Linked DNA regions of Homo sapiens: regions 2, 3, 4, 5, 6 and 7 are each linked to region 1. The links are contacts of gene promoters, found by promoter capture Hi-C in blood cells and fetal thymus (Javierre and others, 2016). All regions are on one chromosome and are shown on one strand. The core of a region is centred on a gene start or on the middle of the fragment in contact, and the rest is flanking DNA. Distances in the headings are between cores, read along the strand shown. Region 1 holds the start of ZFYVE26 (zinc finger FYVE-type containing 26). Region 2 overlaps DCAF5 (DDB1 and CUL4 associated factor 5). Region 3 overlaps DCAF5 (DDB1 and CUL4 associated factor 5). Region 4 holds the start of LOC124903336 (a long non-coding RNA gene). Region 5 overlaps ACTN1 (actinin alpha 1). Region 6 has its middle 67 kb from the start of ZFP36L1. Region 7 has its middle 37 kb from the start of ZFP36L1.

What was found. The method cuts DNA at HindIII sites, captures the fragments that hold promoters and counts their contacts. A CHiCAGO score of 5 or more calls a contact.
Region 2: a fragment that was not itself captured here is called in contact with the fragment with the promoter of ZFYVE26 in region 1 in 2 of 17 cell types (non-activated CD4 T cells and naive B cells); the score reaches 7.5 in non-activated CD4 T cells.
Region 3: a fragment that was not itself captured here is called in contact with the fragment with the promoter of ZFYVE26 in region 1 in 1 of 17 cell types (total B cells); the score reaches 5.7 in total B cells.
Region 4: a contact is called between a fragment that was not itself captured here and the fragment with the promoter of ZFYVE26 in region 1, in 1 of 17 cell types (neutrophils). The highest score is 5.7, in neutrophils.
Region 5: a fragment that was not itself captured here is called in contact with the fragment with the promoter of ZFYVE26 in region 1 in 1 of 17 cell types (neutrophils); the score reaches 5.8 in neutrophils.
Region 6: a contact is called between a fragment that was not itself captured here and the fragment with the promoter of ZFYVE26 in region 1, in 4 of 17 cell types (naive CD8 T cells, naive CD4 T cells, neutrophils and 1 more). The highest score is 6.8, in naive CD8 T cells.
Region 7: a fragment that was not itself captured here is called in contact with the fragment with the promoter of ZFYVE26 in region 1 in 5 of 17 cell types (neutrophils, M2 macrophages, total B cells and 2 more); the score reaches 8.8 in neutrophils.

Annotation. Positions count from the first base shown.
Region 1 is chr14:67,815,287-67,817,954 of GRCh38, forward strand. It overlaps ZFYVE26 (zinc finger FYVE-type containing 26), which reads right to left and starts at 1,304. Exons shown (of 42, transcript NM_015346.4): 1 at 1,248-1,304; 2 at 484-760. The coding sequence starts at 677. RefSeq lists enhancers at 1,516-1,685, 1,736-1,835. The HindIII fragment of the contact is 23,571 bases long and covers 1-2,668 here.
Region 2 is chr14:69,116,656-69,119,323 of GRCh38, forward strand. DCAF5 (DDB1 and CUL4 associated factor 5) reads right to left here. Exons shown (of 9, transcript NM_003861.3): 3 at 2,539-2,575; 4 at 1,484-1,623. Among named protein-coding and RNA genes, the nearest start is that of DCAF5, 35 kb to the right of the region's middle. The HindIII fragment of the contact is 1,289 bases long and covers 676-1,964 here.
Region 3 is chr14:69,098,782-69,101,449 of GRCh38, forward strand. All of the region lies in intron 5 of DCAF5 (DDB1 and CUL4 associated factor 5), which reads right to left. Among named protein-coding and RNA genes, the nearest start is that of DCAF5, 53 kb to the right of the region's middle. The HindIII fragment of the contact is 329 bases long and covers 1,203-1,531 here.
Region 4 is chr14:68,965,665-68,968,332 of GRCh38, forward strand. All of the region lies in intron 1 of ACTN1 (actinin alpha 1), which reads right to left. LOC124903336 (a long non-coding RNA gene) reads right to left here and starts at 2,515. Exons shown (of 2, transcript XR_007064228.1): 1 at 2,467-2,515; 2 at 1-2,399. RefSeq lists an enhancer at 2,107-2,668. The HindIII fragment of the contact is 730 bases long and covers 993-1,722 here.
Region 5 is chr14:68,877,314-68,879,981 of GRCh38, forward strand. ACTN1 (actinin alpha 1) reads right to left here. Exons shown (of 22, transcript NM_001130004.2): 18 at 2,649-2,668; 19 at 1,676-1,756; 20 at 1,145-1,210. Among named protein-coding and RNA genes, the nearest start is that of ZFP36L1, 86 kb to the left of the region's middle. The HindIII fragment of the contact is 2,213 bases long and covers 242-2,454 here.
Region 6 is chr14:68,859,180-68,861,847 of GRCh38, forward strand. It overlaps the pseudogene MAGOH3P. Among named protein-coding and RNA genes, the nearest start is that of ZFP36L1, 67 kb to the left of the region's middle. The HindIII fragment of the contact is 2,634 bases long and covers 46-2,668 here.
Region 7 is chr14:68,829,154-68,831,821 of GRCh38, forward strand. No RefSeq gene overlaps it. Among named protein-coding and RNA genes, the nearest start is that of ZFP36L1, 37 kb to the left of the region's middle. The HindIII fragment of the contact is 2,168 bases long and covers 221-2,388 here.

The DNA.
Region 1 (2,668 bases), core at 54-2,553:
TACTACAGCTGTATGAGACGTCGCAATTGGGGCAGACTGGGAAAAGGATACGCTGGACTCCATTATTTTTGCAGCTTCTTGTGAGACTGCAATTATTTCGAAATAAAAAGTTTTAAGTAAAGCGACAACAATATTTTCAATCTCATAAGCAAGAAGAGAGCAGGGTTTGCTTTTTTGGAGGCAAAGAAAATAGTTTTCAATGCAGTTCCACCATCTATATTAACGAGGATAAACAAGAAATGGCAGTTTCAGGCACACTTTGGCAGCCAGGCTTACATTCAGTTGCAGATGATAATCAAAAGCCAATATTGACTAAGTAATGGATGTATACTATAGAGGTAAAATTTCAGAGCACGTGAAATACACTGTGCCTCTGCTTATTCTTCAGAGGGTAGTTGAGTGGGGGCACATTGACCAATGCCCAAATATTGAACCACATGTCTCTCACCCTGGGACCGTCTGGTAGGAAAAGAGATCCCTTACCTCAGCAGATTTGGACACACCACCAATGCCTGAAGTATGTCTTCTACCCTCTTTGGGATATCCCCTTGTCCCTCCTGTAGCTGAGGTACACATGCCTGTGCCAGCTCCCATTCTCCCCTCCGCAGGCATTCGCAGAAAAATCCAAAAAGCTGCTTCTGCGAAGCAGCTTCCTCTTTTCCAAATGGATGATTCATTTTCCCAGCACAGAGTGCAGGGAGATACAAAGAAATGAGTTATGCCGAACACATTCTCAATGTTCTCATTCGCGGAGTACCTCCTAGAAACAACACAACGCCAGTGAGAAGAAACAGAAGGCACTGTATTAAGACAAAGCAGCAACTACTGGTCCGCCTGGGAAAGGCGGGACTTGCTTGCCTAAGTATCGTTTTCAGTTTAATTTCCCACGTTACTTTTTGAAAACACTTTCTTCAAGGGGTGGATCCCATCTCTTCACGCGGATTCCTATATTTAATAATATTAATAGTCATATTTGCTCCGGGCGCAGACCCATAACTCTACGTCCGTATTCCCTACTGAACGTTATGCCCAGTCTTGACTCCAAATCCCCAGGTGGTCGCCTCCTCAAGAATGAGAAATTCAGCAGGAACCTCCCTAGTTTGAGCCCTCTGTTAAGGCAGAGGATTGACGACCAGGAGACGAATCTGTGTCATAAGTGGAAAGCAGTGTGGGGGTGGGCCGCAGGGACGCTCTCTGCGGGGGTCGTGGAGAGGGGCCCCTCCCTCTCAGGGGTGTCTTACACTCACCTGCTCCCGGCGCCCAAAGCAATAGAGCTCTCAGCGCAGCCATGTTTGAGCCGAGTCAGGTGACAGAACCCACTCCGAACAGCGGTGGTGGGGGTGGTGACAAAGACTGAAAGCCCCACTCCTATTGGCTCAAGGCAGGGAAGATGAAAATTAAGTGCCATATTTGTTTGAGTCACGTGACGCCACCTCTCCGGGAGTAGGGAAAGCTAGAAAGCTCGGAAAGAGGAAATCAGCTACCTGGCTGCGGACCATCTCCCTCAATTGTGACAGCTCCGGCGCTCAATACTTTCAGTTCTGCATTCGGCCGAGCAGGTGGCAGGAAGAACTGTGACCCTGGATTTTTTTTTTTCTTCCACTCTCTTATCTCCTTAACATGTGAAGTCAACATTTATTGAACGCCAACCAGTGATGGTGTTTTGCCAGGCGCGGGGGATACCCGGAGCTAGGAGAACTGGGTTCTCCTCCATTATTATTCTATCTACTGGGCTCTTTTGTTCCGGAACTCTGCGGTCTGAATTTCCATATTCTTCTGCTTCACTCCATTCATTTATTTGCACATTTACCCTACAACTGTTAATTGAACGGTGTGCTAGGCTTTATTTTATTTTTTTAGAGACAGAGTCTCTCTGTCGCTGGAGTGCGGTGGTGTGATCTCGGCTCATGGCAGCCTCGAACTTCCTGGATCAAGTAATCCTTAAGCCTCAGCCTTCCTGTAGTAGCTGGGACTAGAGGCGCGCGCCACTACACCGGGCTTAGGCCCTATTCTCTAAGTTGAGTAAATGGAGGTCCTTCTTCTCAAGGGAGATGCAGGCCAAAAATTAGGAGACGGTGGGCTAAATTATAAGACAGAAGTATGCATAAGAGATCAGAGAGCAAAGAATGAGCAAAGGCTTTTTCGCAAACACAATAATCTGAAACCAAGTCTTTTGTTTTGAGACAGAGTCTCGCTCTGTCTCCCAGGCTGGAGTGCAATGGCGCGATCTCGGCTCGCTGCAACCTCCGTCTCCCGGGTTTAAGCGATTCTCCTGCCTCAGCCTCACTGTGTAGCTGGGATAAGCGATTCTTCTGCCTCAGCCTCACTGAGTAGCTGGGATTTACAGGCGCGCGCCACCACACCCGGCTAATTTTTGTATTTTTAATAGAGACAGGGGTTCACCATGTTGGCCAGGCTGGTCTCGAACTCCTGACCTCAGGCAATCCGCCCACCTCGGCCTCCCAAAGTTCTGGGATTACGGGCGTGAGCCACCGTTCCCAGCCTGAAACCAACTCTTGAAGTAACGGCTTACTAGGTTTGCTCACCACAGCTGCCTTACACCAAGCCTTTTGTTTGGTTTCCCTGGTGTGCTTTAATCACAGACTCTCAGCTTTCCTCACTATGTGTGTTTCAGGTTTAGTAATTTCATTCAGCATTTCCCAAACTA
Region 2 (2,668 bases), core at 70-2,569, 1.3 Mb after region 1:
ACAAGGTCCCCATGAGTCCTATACATAGCAAGGTAAACACATTTAACCACATTTTAAGCTATAACACCCAGAAATATATATAGCAGCTATCAGATCTTGACACAAAACAGAAACGGCCACTAAAAATGGGAAAATAAGCCATTTTACAGTAAGTAAAACTGAATTCCACATGAGCTGAAAAAATTCACAACCAAGTATGGTAGGGTTATTATGCTTTTAATCCAATTGTATTAGTTTTAGAAAAGTTTTTAAACCATGCACAGATTTGATGAAGATTAAAAAAAACAATGACAAAATTAAGACGTGGTGAAACACAATGGTGTGGTTTTTCTCTTCTGGTTCACAATGCTCCCTAACATCTAGCCAGTCTGTAATCAACTTCACCTAGAAACCCTGCAACATTTTACAAAAATTAGCAGGTTCCAAGTGAGGAAGAAATCACTTAGTTACCTAGCAGGATATACTCCTATGGGACCTGTTAGAGTAATACAAAGAAAGCACTTCTCAGTCTATGACCTCCATATGCAGTATTTCACAGGTCTCTGAGCAGGTAAAGCACTCAGTCATCTCTGCCATCAGGCAGTTCAGACGAAGGAGAATTTCACTTACCAAGCCCACAGTGACTCGACCACAGCTGCTACTTCGTGCTACCTTACCTGCCTAACCCTAAAAACAAGCTTCTCTTATAGCCTGAACCTAAATAATGAGCACAGCCCAGAATGTAAAATGTTTAGAACATAGAAAAGTTAAAAGACCCAGATCCTGCCAGACAGAGCAGGCAGGATAGTAAATTTAGGTACACAGCTGTGATCATTACAATCTGCACTAAAGGCCACGGTGGGTATGGCAGTGGCACTAAGGCTGGTACTAGAGGAAGGGGCCTTTTGAAGACAGGTAGAATTACAGAAATCTCTCTGTAGGAAATGAGCTGAGAAGATGCATTTCCTGAAGAACTTCAGAGAAAGTCAACAAAGCAACTTCTTCATTTCACACATCAGAGAGTCAAAGGGCACATTCAGAGGAGGCACTCACACGACAATCCCCTTTAAACAGAGTTTATTTGCCATCATTTTAAGATCCTATACACAGGTAATTTGAGATTCGGTGGTTCTTTCAACAAAATAACAAGCCTGAAACTAGGATGCAGGAAAGTGCATAACGCCCCCATTCTCTGTAAATAATCAAGAATAGTTACATGTCAGCACCACAACTTCTGCTCCTTGGGGCACTAAACACCAAAGTACAAGGGTTTGTGGAGAGTCACAGGAGGGTGGAGAAGGACTGGCAAAGGTGCCTCACTCCTGAGTATTTAGGTGGAGGATAAGGCCTCCAAAGACCTCTTATGCCCCCATGTGAGTGTTTCACATTTCCTTTCCCTTGACATCACTTGCACATAGATACTGAGGTAATAAATTGGATCTTCAATGAATCTGACATCAAACTGTTCAACACAGTCCAACAGTCATTTGCACAGTGAGCCTACCTCCATGGGGGGATTCCCGAATGTCCCAAATGAGAACCCGGCCATCATCTGAGGAACTGGCAAAAATGTTGTCATTCACTGGGCTCACAGACAAGCCATATACTGCATCTTCATGAGCAAACACGTCCAATGTCTCACTGCTGGGAGATAAGAGAGCAAGACAGAGGCACACACATACACACAAGCATAGTGCAGAGTCCCAGCACTTTGGTACCGAGGGTGCCATCTTTTCCATTTCTAGAAGAAAGTCAACCTAGCTAAACCCAAAAAATATTATATTTCCTGAAAGGTAGGTAGTCAACTTTCAGGTTAAAAAAAAGGTACTATTAAGGAGTCTTTTTAGAGATTTTATAATTTTTGTGCTAAATAAGCATATTTAAAAGTGACTCAATAGCTGAGTTTTGTATTTTCATTTATTACAGAATGCATCTGCTTGTGTACAGATTTGGGGGTCATACTTGATTTTCAAAAAGCAAGGGAAAGCTTTAAAGCAGCCAAGTCTGATGCCTACAGGATGGGAGAGGGGTCTCCTAGCAATCTGGCATGGTGATGAAGAGCATGGCTCTGAGGCCAGATAGCCTAAGTTCAGGTTTTAGTACCACCTGACCTTCTGTTATCTAACATGTCTGTGACTCCGTTTCCTGATCTAGAACGGAGATGACAATAGTATCTCCTCAGAAAATGAGTGTGAGGATTAAATGAATGAATATGTACAAAGCATTTACAATGGTGTCTGGCACATAGTAAGAACTCAATCAATATTAGCTATTACTGTTCTTAAATATTATGGTTCCTTCTCTTCTAAACTCTTGTTTTAAATTTTCACCTAAAAAGTACACTCTCATACCAACTTTCAAAACTTTCAAATCCCTTTTTCCTTTTTAAATCAAAACTTTATTTATTTCAAACTATTGTAGGAATTTTTTTAGAAAAGAACAGCTGGTTTCATGTTGTTTTTTTCAAAAAACAAAAACTATTTTAGTCTAAAGAGATATTTGCCTCTTCATATATGAAAAACAAAGTCAATCACCTTCACACACCACCAATCTATTTACCTTTCAACATCATGGAGGATAACTTGCTCATCATTGCCTGCAAAAGAAAAAAGCAGACATCTGATCATTCGTGCAAGGTGGTCCCTGTCCACATTACAATTTAGTATTTTTAAGTTTTCAGGGAAAAAAT
Region 3 (2,668 bases), core at 117-2,616, 1.3 Mb after region 1:
CAGCTACTCAGGAGGCTGAGGCAGGAGAATGGCATGAGGAGGCGGAGCTTGTAGTGAGCCGAGATCACACCACTGCACTCCAGCCTGGCCGACTGAGCGAGACTCTGTCTCCAAAAAAAAAAAAAAAAAAAAAAGAAAAGAAAAAAAAGAAAAACACTGACTTAAAACGTTTTTAAAACAAAACTAACAGGCCTGGCGCAGTGGCTCACACCTGTAATCCCAGCACTTTGGGAGGCCAAGGTGGGCAGATCACGAGGTCAAGAGATCGAGACCATCCTGGCCAACATGGTGAAACCCAGTCTCTACTAAAAATTTAAAAAATTAGCTGGGCATGGTGGTCCACACCTGTAGTATCAGCTACTTGGGAGGCTGAGGCAAAAGAATCGCTTGAACCTGGGAGGCGGAGGTTGCAGTGAGCTGAGATTGCACCACGGCACTCCAGCCTGGCAACAGAGTGGGACTCTGTCTCAACACACACACACACACACACACACACACACACACACACACACACACACAACTAACAAAGCAAAAACAGGCTCCATCGAGATTCACATGGCTCTTAACATTTGTCTACCCATGAAACCTGATCTCGAGGGGCAAGCAGCAGAACAGCATAAAATCAGATAAACAATAGTAAGCTTGGAGAGCATCTGAGTCAAAGTCCTCCTACATAGGTGCATAGGTGGAGATCTGTGGTCCACAGTGATTTATCAATGACCATCCAGGTCTCTACATCTCACATGAAGCCATGACGCCACCATACATCCTTTAAGTGAGTTAAATTCATCCATGTGCTAATCATGTAAGGATCCAACAAGATAATTTAACAGGTAAGCAAGTATCTTAATTATATCTTAGACTTTAAAGCAAGTTCCTGGCTGGGCATGGTGGTTCATGCCTGTAATCCCAACACTTTGGGAGGCCCAAGCAAGAGAATTGCTTGAGCTTAGGGGTTTGAGGCCAGCCTGGGCAACAAAGTGAAACCCTGTCTCTACAAAAAAAAAATACAAAAATTAGCCGAGCATAGTGGCACATGCCTGTAGTCCCAGCTACTCAGAAGGCTGAGGTGGGAGGATCAACTGAGCCACTGCACTGCAGCCTGGGTGACAGAATAAGACACTGTCTCAAAGAATAAAATAACATTAAAAAAAAAAGTTTCTGATATTTGCAGAAAAGAAGTTCAAAAGGAAAATTATTTAAGCTTTAAAAGGAAGCCAATTACAAGTTAAAAGAAAGTAGATTCATCTACCATGTTTCAGAAAGTGACCAGTGAATTCAGCAGGTATTAAATACATGTCCTACCCAATTATGCTCAAAAATAGATAGTGATATACTATACATATTGATGGATATATGGATATCAATAGGAAGATACATTAACTAGACTATAGAACTTGGGTCATTTTTATTTTCCTTATAGCTTTCATTTTATTTTCCAAGTTTTTCTACAATGAATATAAACTTCTATAATCAGAAGGAAATGTCTTCTCACATATACTCCCTCTTTTAAAAAGGGTCCATGGAAGAAAGCTTTGAGAAAAGTATGAGAATAGGGAATTTAGAGAGCCTCTTAATGGAAACTTCACATAATAAACTGACCCATAGGATTCTGGTACAAATGCTAAATTTGAAATCCAGTCATTATTTTAAATCCATATAATAACAGTCAAACAAAAATTTTCAAAGGTCTCTGAAATTCAATCTTAGTGTCCCTTACCATCCTTCTCAATGAGGGCAAATAATATCCCTCCTTTGGTAGATTTCTAGATACAAAACAAGTTTCCCTTGGTTAGCATTGGACATAGTCACCAAGTTAGGTCTGAAACTACACTCAGTTTTATTTCTTTCTACAGATCCACCATCCCACTTCCAAAGTATCCATAAACAAATGGGAAAGTTAAGTGATCAGAATAGAAAACAGATTCAAAACACACAAGTATTTTATGCATAATCCAGAAATATTAGCAGTGTTCTTGGAAAGTCTTCTACATATGGGCAAATTCATGGGTAAAAGAAGCCAAGATTATTATTGAGAGTATACTAAGAAGTCCCTATCTAAAATATGTGACTCCCAACACATAAAACATAAGGTCAAACCTGGAATTACAAAATAGAAAGTTCAAACTACAAAGAATTCACTGAAGGGATTATATCAACATAGATACCCCTGAAGAAGCAACAAGTTCTTCAGTAAATTTAATTTCCAAAATGTTTTCATGTATATCATATCATCTAATCCTTAAAATAATCCTATAAAATAGACAGTGTGGTTAACATCAACCTATGTTACACTGGAGGAGACCAAGGTCCTGAGTAATTATATGACTTGACCCTGACCACACAATCAAGCAGCCGAAATAGAAGCAAGTTTTTTCTGCTTCTTGGTTCAACAAGATTTCACAGAATATGCTGTGGAGATGGATTATTCCACCTATTAAAAAGAACAGCATCAGACTGCAATGCATCAGGGCCAGAAGGATTCATCTAAGTCATTCACTTCACACCCTTCCCTACAATTCAGTAATTCATTTATTCATGCATACTTTCATTTAAATATTTATTGAATACCTGCTGACTATCTTAGGCACTGTGTCACACACATGGATTCAAAGATGTTACCGTTTCCATGAACAGTGCTGTAATAAGGGGAAGATCTGCCAAGAGA
Region 4 (2,668 bases), core at 108-2,607, 1.2 Mb after region 1:
CACTCAGGACCACACCCTAAGCAGGTATTTCCAGAGCCAGAGTGAATGCAGAGCCCAGGACACACAAGAGCACTGGCTTCTGGGTCTGTCTATAAAGGAAGCACATTCACCTGGCCCCACTTGCATCCTCCCTAGAGGGTGAGAACAAACTCCTCAAAGCTGAAGACACAGAGGGCTCCTAAAGAAGCTGTGTTCGCCGAATAGTTAACTTCAGGGCCAGGCTACAAAGCCCAGGAGTCAACTGCAAGGTCACCTTTAGAAGTGCCTGACTCGGATGAGTATGGTGGTTCATGCCTGTAATCCCAGCACTTTGGGAGGCCGAGGCAGGAGATCGTTTAAGCCCAGGAGTTTGAGACCAGCCTGGGTAACACAGCAAGACCCTGTCCCTACAAAAAAAATAAAATTATCTGGGCATGACGACACACTCCTGTGGGCCCACCTACTTGGGAAACTGAGGTGGGAGACTCAATTGAGCCCAGGAGGTAGAAGCTGCAGTAAGCTGAGATCATGCCACTGCACTCCAGCCTGGGTGACAGAGCGAGACCCTGTCTCAAAAAATAAAAAAGTAACTAATTTTGTTTTTAAAAAAAGAAGTGCTTAACTCTGCTGAGTGTCCAAGAGGGCAGAAACACAGAATGTTGGCATCACCGCAGACCCCAGAGATCATCTGCATGTGATAATCCAAGTACAGCCTTTAGAACAGAGCCCCACCACCATCCTACCATCCAATTTCTCGGTTTATAGGTGGTTTCAGGTGTGACTTATCCAGCATCACAAAGTGGCCACAGGCAGCACTAGGACAAGACCTCGGGTCTCCTGAGGCCCCGGTACCTAACACACAACCATTCTTCCTGTTCCTGGGGGACAAGATAGGTTTCTGCCAAACAACTCTCTGGCCTAATAAATCAAAGAAGACAGTCTTTTCACACCTATCCCCACTCCCAAATGCCACTCCCAAAGTCCCAACAGAAAGGGAGCAGGAGGCAGGTGAAAGCTTTGCTGAGGCCCCACAGTTATCTAGATCCACACCCCTCGGGATACTGTGGCTAAAGACAGTGGGCTGCTGACGTCCAACACTCCAGAGAGAACCCTCAGCAGAGGGACTGGAAGGAGAAGGAAAACCAAGACCCAGGTTTTACTTCCTTTAAGGTCCACAAACCCACACAAAAGGACCAGAAATTCCCTGTGATTTTCTGAAGCAGGGCTCAGCCAAATGCAATAACCCCACCCTCCAGAGAGGAAGGGGCAGGATGAAGAGGGACATGTCAGTATGGCCAGCACCTTGGAATCTGATGGGCTGTTAGCCAAAGAAAAAACGCAGCTAGGCTGGCTGGTAGGGAGCTGGGAGGTCTGTGCCAGTTCCAACCAGCCTACCATTGGACGCACCAGCTCAGAGAGGGGCGCTGAGCAGCATGGCAGGGGCTGAGGTCATCCTAGGCTATGACCCCATCCCAATGACAAGGCCAGCTTCCCTGGCCCCTGTCCTCCTTCTGATTCCAGGACACACCTCTTAGTCCTGAGGAGCCAACTGGGCCTCTGCCCTGGTCCCAGCAATCAACCTCATCTCTGGGGTGGTCCTTGGTGACTCAGACTACCACCACCCAGGCCCTCAGCATCTGTCAGTTGTCTCCTGCAGGACTACAGCTGCCACACTCCTGTCCAAAGGCCCTCACCACCACTGTTCATCAACACTGGATACTCGGTGAATACCTAGTATGTGCAAGCTTGATTCGTGCTTACCTGCTCTTTGGGGTGCTGGGATGAGCTCATCAGGGAGCTCCTGAAAGTCCATTACTAGGGGGACCCCAGGAGACTCCACAAATCCACCTTTGATCATCCAAGGAGCCTCAGATCAGTTACAGATCAGTGACATCCCCTGAGAATCCTCTAAATGTCTTTAGAGAGGAGTTTCACAACAGTGCCCCAAGAAAGTGTAATGAAGGCAGGCAGGCTGCCACATATCTGTCCTTTCTGACTCTCCTAGCCCAGGTACTAACTGGGCAAGGCAATGGCCGAGTGGCTGAGAGCCAGAAGATAAGAAGGCAAGAGGAGGGAAATCAGACAGGGACAAAGGCCACTCAACTGGGACCCCACTTGTTGTCCTTGAAGCCTAGGAATGGTCCTGGCGGAGTGGGGCTCATCGTGGCTCCCCACATCTGGCCTCTTCCAAAACTCTACATGCAGCCCAAGCCTCATATCCAGAGCAGTCTCTTGTCTTGCAGAGCACAGCCAGCTTCCAAATGGCACAAGAGGCTGCTGAGCCATAAAATATAAACTCATTTAGAAGCATTCCCAAATTCACGCACCTTTTCGTCATGACACATTTGCTTTATCAAGAAGTAATAAAAGCACAACTACTACCCTGGGAGGTGAAAAAAATGGCAACGTGGCATAGGTCCCTAGGAACCTGAATCTCAAGCCCAGGAAAAGAGGGCAGCAGGCAAGGGACCAGGGACCCATAGGTACGGACACCAGATGCCACACACACGTGTGGGTGGAAAGAGAGTAAGATACTGAGACTGACGTCTCCTGCCCTCCCTCATCAAACATCAGCAAGTCTTTGAACACTGGCGGGGTGCAGGGTGGCAGGTGTAACATACGAACGCCACCGCAGAGGCAGGAAGCCGGGTTCAGTCCCACCTGCCACCTACAAGTTGCTGTGTGACCT
Region 5 (2,668 bases), core at 98-2,597, 1.1 Mb after region 1:
TGGGGGCTCAGAGCAGCCTATGGCTGGAAGAGAAGGGCACATCCCCCTGACCTAACCTGGGTTGTCCTAAGGGTATGATGGGGACACAACACCCAACAGGGGAGACCCAGCTCAGGGTTCCCCACACCCTGCAGATGCCTGAGTTCCTCTTAGAGCAAATAATCATGTTGATAATAACTATAATGACAACAATGATTAACAATGGCTGACACCTATGTAGCATATCAAGTATTAATCTAAAAGCTTTATTTCAATTCATTTAATCCTTACTACAACCATAAAGATAGGTATTTTATTATCTTCATTGTACAGATGAGAAATCTGAAGCCCAGACAGGCTAAGTGATTTGCCCAGGGTCACACAGCCAGGAAGCAGCAGAACTGGGATTTGAACTCAGGCAGTCTGGTTCTAGAATCTGTTCTCTCCCCACCACACTGTATTTTCTACATGCCAGATACATGCACACACTTAAATTCCTTCATTTAATCCTTGTAACAGTCCTGTAGGGTTCCCCCACTTCACCTGAGGTAACACACTAATGACGGCAGGGCTGGGATTTACTCCCAGGTTCACTGCTCCTAGCCCCATGCCCATGCCCTGCGCTGGACAGCCTGTGGGCTCTGCACTTGGCACCATGGCTCAGGAGTCACCTGACTGCTCTGCTCAGAATGTCTGTGCAAGGGGGGACAGACTAGGAAGGTTGGGGGGTGGGGGACGGCCTGGGACAATCCAGAGGGGCGGCAGGCCCAACCAGAGTCACCGCCAGGACAGAGGTGGAAGTCTCGGTTTCCATGCTCCATGTGAGGTGACGCATGCCAGCCCGAAACCTGGGATGTCCCACACCACCAGTCCTTCCTGCCAGCCTCAGGGTCAGCCCAGCTGTCCACAGTGGGAGTGAGAAGTACCAGAAGATGAAGTGGCACAGAGATTGAGGCGAGGAGGTCAGGCCTCCCGGATACACACACGCCCGTGGCCGGGCCGGCTTTCAGGGAGCCATCTTCCCCAAGGACATGGGCCCTGGGGCTCCTCCAGGGAGGGCAGCCCCTAGCCTGAGGGCCTCCAGCCTGCCACTCCTGGGACTTGGCTGCTCCCGCCAGCTGGCTGCCTTCTCACCAGGGCAGACAGAGGGTGGGGTTTACGTTACCATGTTGTAACCCATGGAGATCAGGCAGGCGCGGAAATCATCCGTGTCCATCATGCCTGTCTTCTTCTGTGGGGGGCAGTGGTACCAAGACACAAGGAGGGTCGGGAAGGCAGGAAGAGGAAGGGCCGGCCCGGGGCCAGGAAGACAGGAACAGATGGCCAGAACGGGGATGAGATTTATGGTTTTGGGGGTCAGGATAGGTAAAGGAACATAGGAGAAGATGCGAACACACATCGGTGGAAATGTCCAAAGACAGGAGGAAGACAGAGCAGGGAGATGCAAAAATCCACCCATGGGATGAAGAGCAGCGAGGACGGAAGACAGCGGGCACCCAGTAGGTTGCCATGAAAGACAGCAGAGGGCAGAGGGTGGACCAGTGATGGGGCAGACAGAGACAGCAGGAGAGGACGAGCCCCATGGCCCACAGGAGGGGGACAGGAGATCCAGACAGAGAGAAGAGAAAAAGGAAAAACGCATTATTTCTTGCCCCAGACGCCACCCCTGAGCGTGCTCCATGCAGGAGGCGAGTACCTGGGGGTCGTTGCCAATATCATAACCCAAGCTGATGAGGCAGGCTTTGAACTCCTCGGGACCCAGTGTGCCGGAGTGATCCTGGGGCCGCGGTGCGCCAGGCAGCGAGCCATGCGGTGTCAGGGAGGTGGAGCCGTGAGGGGGGCATGCCCCGGGGGAGGGTGGCGTGTGTGGGGAGACACAGGGACAGGCATGCGGAGGGAGGGTGGGGGGGCGGGGGAGGAGGGGAAATAAAAGTGCACACGGTTAGACACACCAACGAGGCTCCAGGGGGTGCCCTCCCCCCAGCACACGCAGCCCTGCTCCAGGGAGCAGGACCACAGTGGGGTGTGATGAGCCACAAGGGTGAGAAGCTCCCTCAGAAGTGACCCAGCCCCCCCGCTTCCCCAGGGGCTTCCCCCCAGGTGCCTAGAGAGCCATGAAGCAGGTGGGGTGGTGGGCAGCACCCAAGCCCATGCTCCCACGCCTTGGGACCGCCCGCAAGCCCCAGGGCACTGGGAAGGGGCAGCCCACTAAAACCCAGCCTGACCCAGAGCTGGGATGGGAACCCAGGACCAAGGCCTCTGACATCCCCAGCAGAGTCCCAGAGGCCACTGGAGGTCGGGGTAGGGGTAGGGGCCAGCGAGGGCAGGAGGAGTCTCTTCTGCTCCTCTGTCTCCACAGCCAGGGAGCAGCAAGCCTTCACTGAGGGTGACTCCTCATGGTAGGAGAGCAAGGATCAGGGGTCAAAGGTCCTCTTTCTACCCACAGTCTGAACACTCTCTCCCGGAAAGCAGGGAAGCTTATGGGGCACCAACACAGGTTTTCCAAGGCTGGTTTTGCAGGGTGCATTGAGTCAGGGCAGGCTGACGGCAGTTTCCCCTTTCTCTCCCTCCTCACTTGCATGGCAGCCCACGTCCCGGGGAAGTGCCCTCCAGGGCCCTGGGGCAGGGGTTGGGGGCTGCACTAAGAAAGCACAGGATGGGGCTCTCACCCGGTCAAAGTGGTTGAAGG
Region 6 (2,668 bases), core at 113-2,612, 1.0 Mb after region 1:
GACCCTATCAGCCTGGAGATGGTACCAGAGGAATCTACATTAATAAGCTTTACTAACTAGTCTTTGTCTGCCATTTATTTGCCTTCCCCACAAGCCGCTGCCGCCAGAGACTCAACGCCCTTTTCCTTTGTCTTGTCACTGCTCTAAAAATGGACTGTTCTTTGCTCTGTGTTGAAGATGCTACACAAGCTAGAATTCAAAGCTACCTCTTTGAGAACTATTCATTCTCTGAGTGTCTTCCATGTATACATAAAATATACATGTTAATAAACTTCTGTTTGTTTTTCTCTTCTTAGTCTGTCTTTCATAACAGGGGCGCTTTTCTAACTACAAACCCATGGGGGCTATTATTTTTCCCCTGCAATACTCCAAAGCATGGCGCCTTGGCATCTGAGGTTTTTTCTTTGTTTTGTTTTTTTGTTTGTTTGTTTGTTTTTGTCTTTTTTGAGACAGAGTTTTGCTCTTGTTGCCCAGGCTGGAGTGCAATGACGTGATCTCTGATCATCGCAACCTCCGCCACCCAGGTTCAAGCGATTCTCCTGCCTCAGCCTCCTGAGTAGCTGGGATTACAGGCATGTGCCACCACGCCTGGCTAATTTTGTATTTTTAGTAGAGATGGGGTTTCTCCATGTTGGCCAGGCTGGTCTCGAACTCCTGACCTCAGGTGATCCTCCCACCTCGGCCTCCCAAAGTGCTGGGATTACAGGCGTGAGCCACCGCACCTGGCCAAAACTGTCCATTGTTCATCAAACCTAAGCATAAAAATACCGTTTTCCCTGGGTCTTTGGGTCTTTATTTCTGAAGGCTCCCATGTGACATAAAACTTTGGTTAAATAAATTTGTTAAACTTTCCTCTTGTTAATCTGTCTTTTGTTACAGGGGTGTCAGCCATGAACCTCTTGGTGGGTGAAGGAAAGATCTTAGTTTTTCTCCCCTACACCCTGCTTTCCTGGAGATCATTCCATTTGTAGTTTTCTCCAAATGAAACTTTTTTATATATGATTATAAAAGTGACACTTGATTCATGCAAAAAAAAAAAAATCAGCTAATACAACATGGTATAAAGAGGAAAGTGTGGCCAGGCACAGTGGCTCACACCTGTAATCCCAGCACTTTGGGAGGCTGAACCGGGGGGCGGGTCACAAGGTCAAGAGTTCAAAACCGGCCTGGCCAACATGGTGAAATCCCGTCTCTACTAAAAATACAAAACACAATTAGCCAGGCGTGGTGGCACATGCCTGTAGTCCCAGCTACTCAGGAGGCTGAGGCAGGAGAATCGCTTGAACCCAGGAGGCAGAGGTTGCAGTGAGCCAAGATCGCACCACTCCACTCCAGCCTGGGTAACAGAGCAAGACTCTGTCTCAGAAAGAAAAAAAAAAGGGAAAGTGTGAGGGGCAGAATGTAAGGAGAGGAGCACCTTCAGGGGTGGAAGTGAGAGACGCCCTACCGATTCTGGGGAGGAACTGGGAGTGACAGGGCCCAAACTGTGAGATAGCTAGCCTCACCCTGCTCCCAGCCTTCCTCAGAGCTTTCATGCTACTCTGGTTCCTGGGACCCTCTGACAACCCTGGGCTTGCCTTCATGGGATCTTTTCCCTGCGGAGGACATGTTCTGATTTGACAGCACTTGGCAGGTTCCCCTGAGAAGCAGCCCCAAGGTGACCAGGACTCGGCTCCCAAATGTCCAGTTATAGCACTTTCTCTCCTCCACAGGACCTTCCCCCAGGGATTAGCGGCTCCAGATACCAGGATTGATGTCACCTTAGTGACACATGGGGCAGCTGCTCCATAGGTCCCTCAGTTCCTCATCGCTCAAGCCTGTTCACAGCAGATGGGGCATTTCAGCTCAACAGATACAATCTGTGACCTTCGCCAGACAACACTCAAAGGCCTTCAACAACATCAAGGTGCACAATTTCCATAGGGAGACTCACCATAAGCACATAATGGAATGCCAAATGAAGCAGGTGCAGGGCCCCAAGTTAGAAGAAAGGAGGGAGAGATTAATACTCTCTTGAAGGTATCAGAGCCTGGTATCCTCATCTGCAAACTGCAGGCACCTACTCAAAGAGCCACCAAGAGGAGATGAAATTGTGTATATGAAAGCACCAATCCAAATGCTGGCACGCAGCAATAGTTGGATCAGAATATAGATATGACTATTAGAAAGTTCTCTCTTCTATCCATACAAAATCTCCCTCTTGGTAATGATGAGGTTTTAATCTAGCACTTCTCAAAGGTGGTCCATGAACTTGTTTCCATTACCAGACCCCACCCAGAATGTCCTAGGGACAAATTCCCAGTTGTCTTTACTTCTCTTAGAAATAATCAGAATCTCTGGGGACACAGTCCTACATGCTGCCTCTTTACCAATCTCCCTAAACAATTCTTGGGCATCGCAAAGTTTGAGAACCACTGGTGAAGTGGATAAAATATCGCTCCTGGGGATGAGGGAAACATAGTTTCAAGTCCTAGCTCTGTCACTCACTGGAGATCTCAGGCCGTGGCCTCCTGTTTTTGTTTGTTTTTTAAGAAAGGGTCTCTCAGTTGTCTGGGTTTTCAGCGGGCTTCCCAGGGACAAAAATGGTTATGGCTAGCGATTTCTACCTGCGCTACTACGTAGGGCACAAGGGCAAGTTTGGGCATGAGTTTTTGGAGTCCGAATTTCA
Region 7 (2,668 bases), core at 55-2,554, 1.0 Mb after region 1:
ATCAGTGTTTGAGATGAGGGATATGCTAGTTACCTTGATCTGATCACTACATATTATATGTATAATCAAATCAGTAGGTAACCCATGAGTATGCACAATTATTATCTGTTGATTTTTAAAAAATAAAAGTTTTTTTAAAAAATAAAAGGAAATTACTTCAACATTAAAAAGCTGTATACAAAAAACTCACTGCAAATATACTCAATGGTGAAAAGTTGAAAGCTTTCCCTCTATGATCAGGAACAAGGAAAGGATGCCTGCTTTCACCACTTCTATTCCACATAGTACTGGAAGTTCTCACTACAGCAAGTCAATCTACAGATTCAATGCAAGCCCTATCAAATCCCAATGACTTTTTTTTTTGCAGAAAAGAAAAACTCATCCTAAAATTTATATTGAATTTCATGGTTCCCTAAGTAGCCAAAATGATCTTGAAAAAGAAGAACAAAGCTGGCCGGGCACGGTGGCTCACACCTGTAATCCCAGCACTTTGGGAGGCCGAGGTGGGTGGATCACGAGGTCAGGAGATCGAGACCATCCTGGCTAACACGGTGAAACCCCGTCTCTACTAAAAATACAAAAAATTAGCCGGGCCTGGTGGCGGGCGCCTGTAGTCCCAGCTACTTGGGAGGCTGAGGCAGAAGAATGGCGTGAACCCGGGAGGCGGAGCTTGCAGTGAGCCAAGATCGCGCCCCTGTGCTCCAGCCTGGGCGACAGAGAGACTCTGTCTCAAAAAAAAAGAAAAAGAAAAAGAACGAAGCTAAAGGACTCACTTTTCCTGATTTCAAAACAAAGCTACAGTATTCAAAACAATGTGGAACTGGCATAAAGACAGACATATAAACCAATGAAGTAGAAGACAGAGCCCAGAAACAAACCCTCACATATATGGTCAAATGATTTTTTTCCTTTACACATTTTATTTTATTTTAAGGTATGTTTATTTTTTATTGATACATAATAGATGTACATATTTTCAGGGTACATGTAATAATTTAATACATTCATATCATGTGTAAATATCAAATCAGGATAATTGAGATATCTGTCCCTTGAATATCTGTCTTTTCTTTATACTGGAAACATTCAAGTTATTCCCTTCTAGCTATTTTGAAATACATAATAGGTTATTGCAAACTATTGTCACCCTACAGATCTATAGAACAATAGATCTTACTTTTTCTGACTGTATATTTGTACCCATTAATCAACCTCTCTTCATCCCCTCACTCCCCTCTCCTTCCCAGCCTCTGAAAACCACAAATTTACTCTCTGTCTTCAAGAGATCCAAGTTTTTAGCTCCCACATATGAGTGAGAACATGCAATATTTGTCTTTCTGCACTTGGCTTATTTCACTTAACATGGTGACATCCACTTGCATCCATGTTGCTACAAATGACATAATTTTATTTTATTATGGTTGAATAATACTTCATTGGGTATATATACCACATCTTCTCTATCTATTCATCCATTGATGGACACTTAGGTTGATTCCATTTTTTGGCTATTGTGAATAGTGCTGTGATAAATACAGGAGTGCAGATATCTCTTTGATATATTGATTTCTTTTCTTTTGGATATATACCCAGTAGTGGATTGCTGGATCAAATGGTGGTTCTCTTTTTAGTTTTTTGTGCTAAAAATAGCTCAAAAAGTGCTATTGATAGTGGTTGTACTAATTTACATTCCCACCAACAGTCTATGAGGGTTCCCCTTTCTCCATATCCTCAGCAGCATCCCTTTTTGATAAAAGCCATTTTAAGTGGAGTGAGATGATCTCACTGTTGTTTTGATTTGTATTTCTTTTTTCTTTTTCTTTTTCTTTTTCTTTTCTTTTTTTTTTTTTTTTTGAGACAGAGTCTTGCTCTGTCACCCAGGCTGGAGTGCAGTGGCACGATCTCGGCTCACCGCAACCTCCGCCTCCCGGGTTCATGCCATTCTCCTGCCTCAGCCTCCCGAGTAGCTGGTACTACAGGCGCCCGCCACCACGCCCAACTAATTTTTTGTGTTTTTAGTAGAGACGGGGTTTCACTGTGTTAGCCAGGATGGTCTCGATCTCCTGACCTCGTTGATCCGCTCACCTTGGCCTCCCAAAGTGCTGGGATTACAGGCGTGAGCCACCTCGCCCAGGCTTGATTTGTATTTCTTTGATGATTAGTGATGTGGAGCATTTTTTCATACACCATTTGTGTGTCTTCTTTTGAGAAATGTCTGTTCAGATGTTTTGCCCATTTTTAAATCAGATTTTTTTTTTGCTATTAAGTTGTTTGAACTCCTTATATATTCAGTTATTAATCCCTTGTTGGATGAGTAGTTTGCAAATATTTTCTCTCATTCTGGGGGTTACCTCTTTACTTTGTTGATTGTTTCTTTTGCTGTGCAGAAGCTTTTTAGCTAGCTGTAATCCTCTTTGTCTATTTTTGCTTTTATTGCCCGTGCTTTTGAGTCTTACACAAAAAATCTTTGTCCTGGAGTGTTTCCCAATGTTTTCTTCTAGTAGTTTCATAGTTTCAGGTCATAGACTTAAGTAATTAATCCATTTTTATATATGGTAAGAAATAGGGGTCTAGTTTTATTATTTTGCATATGGTTATCCAGTTTCCCCAGCACCATTTATTGAAAAGACTCTTCTTTCTCCAGTGTATATTCATGGCATCTTCATTG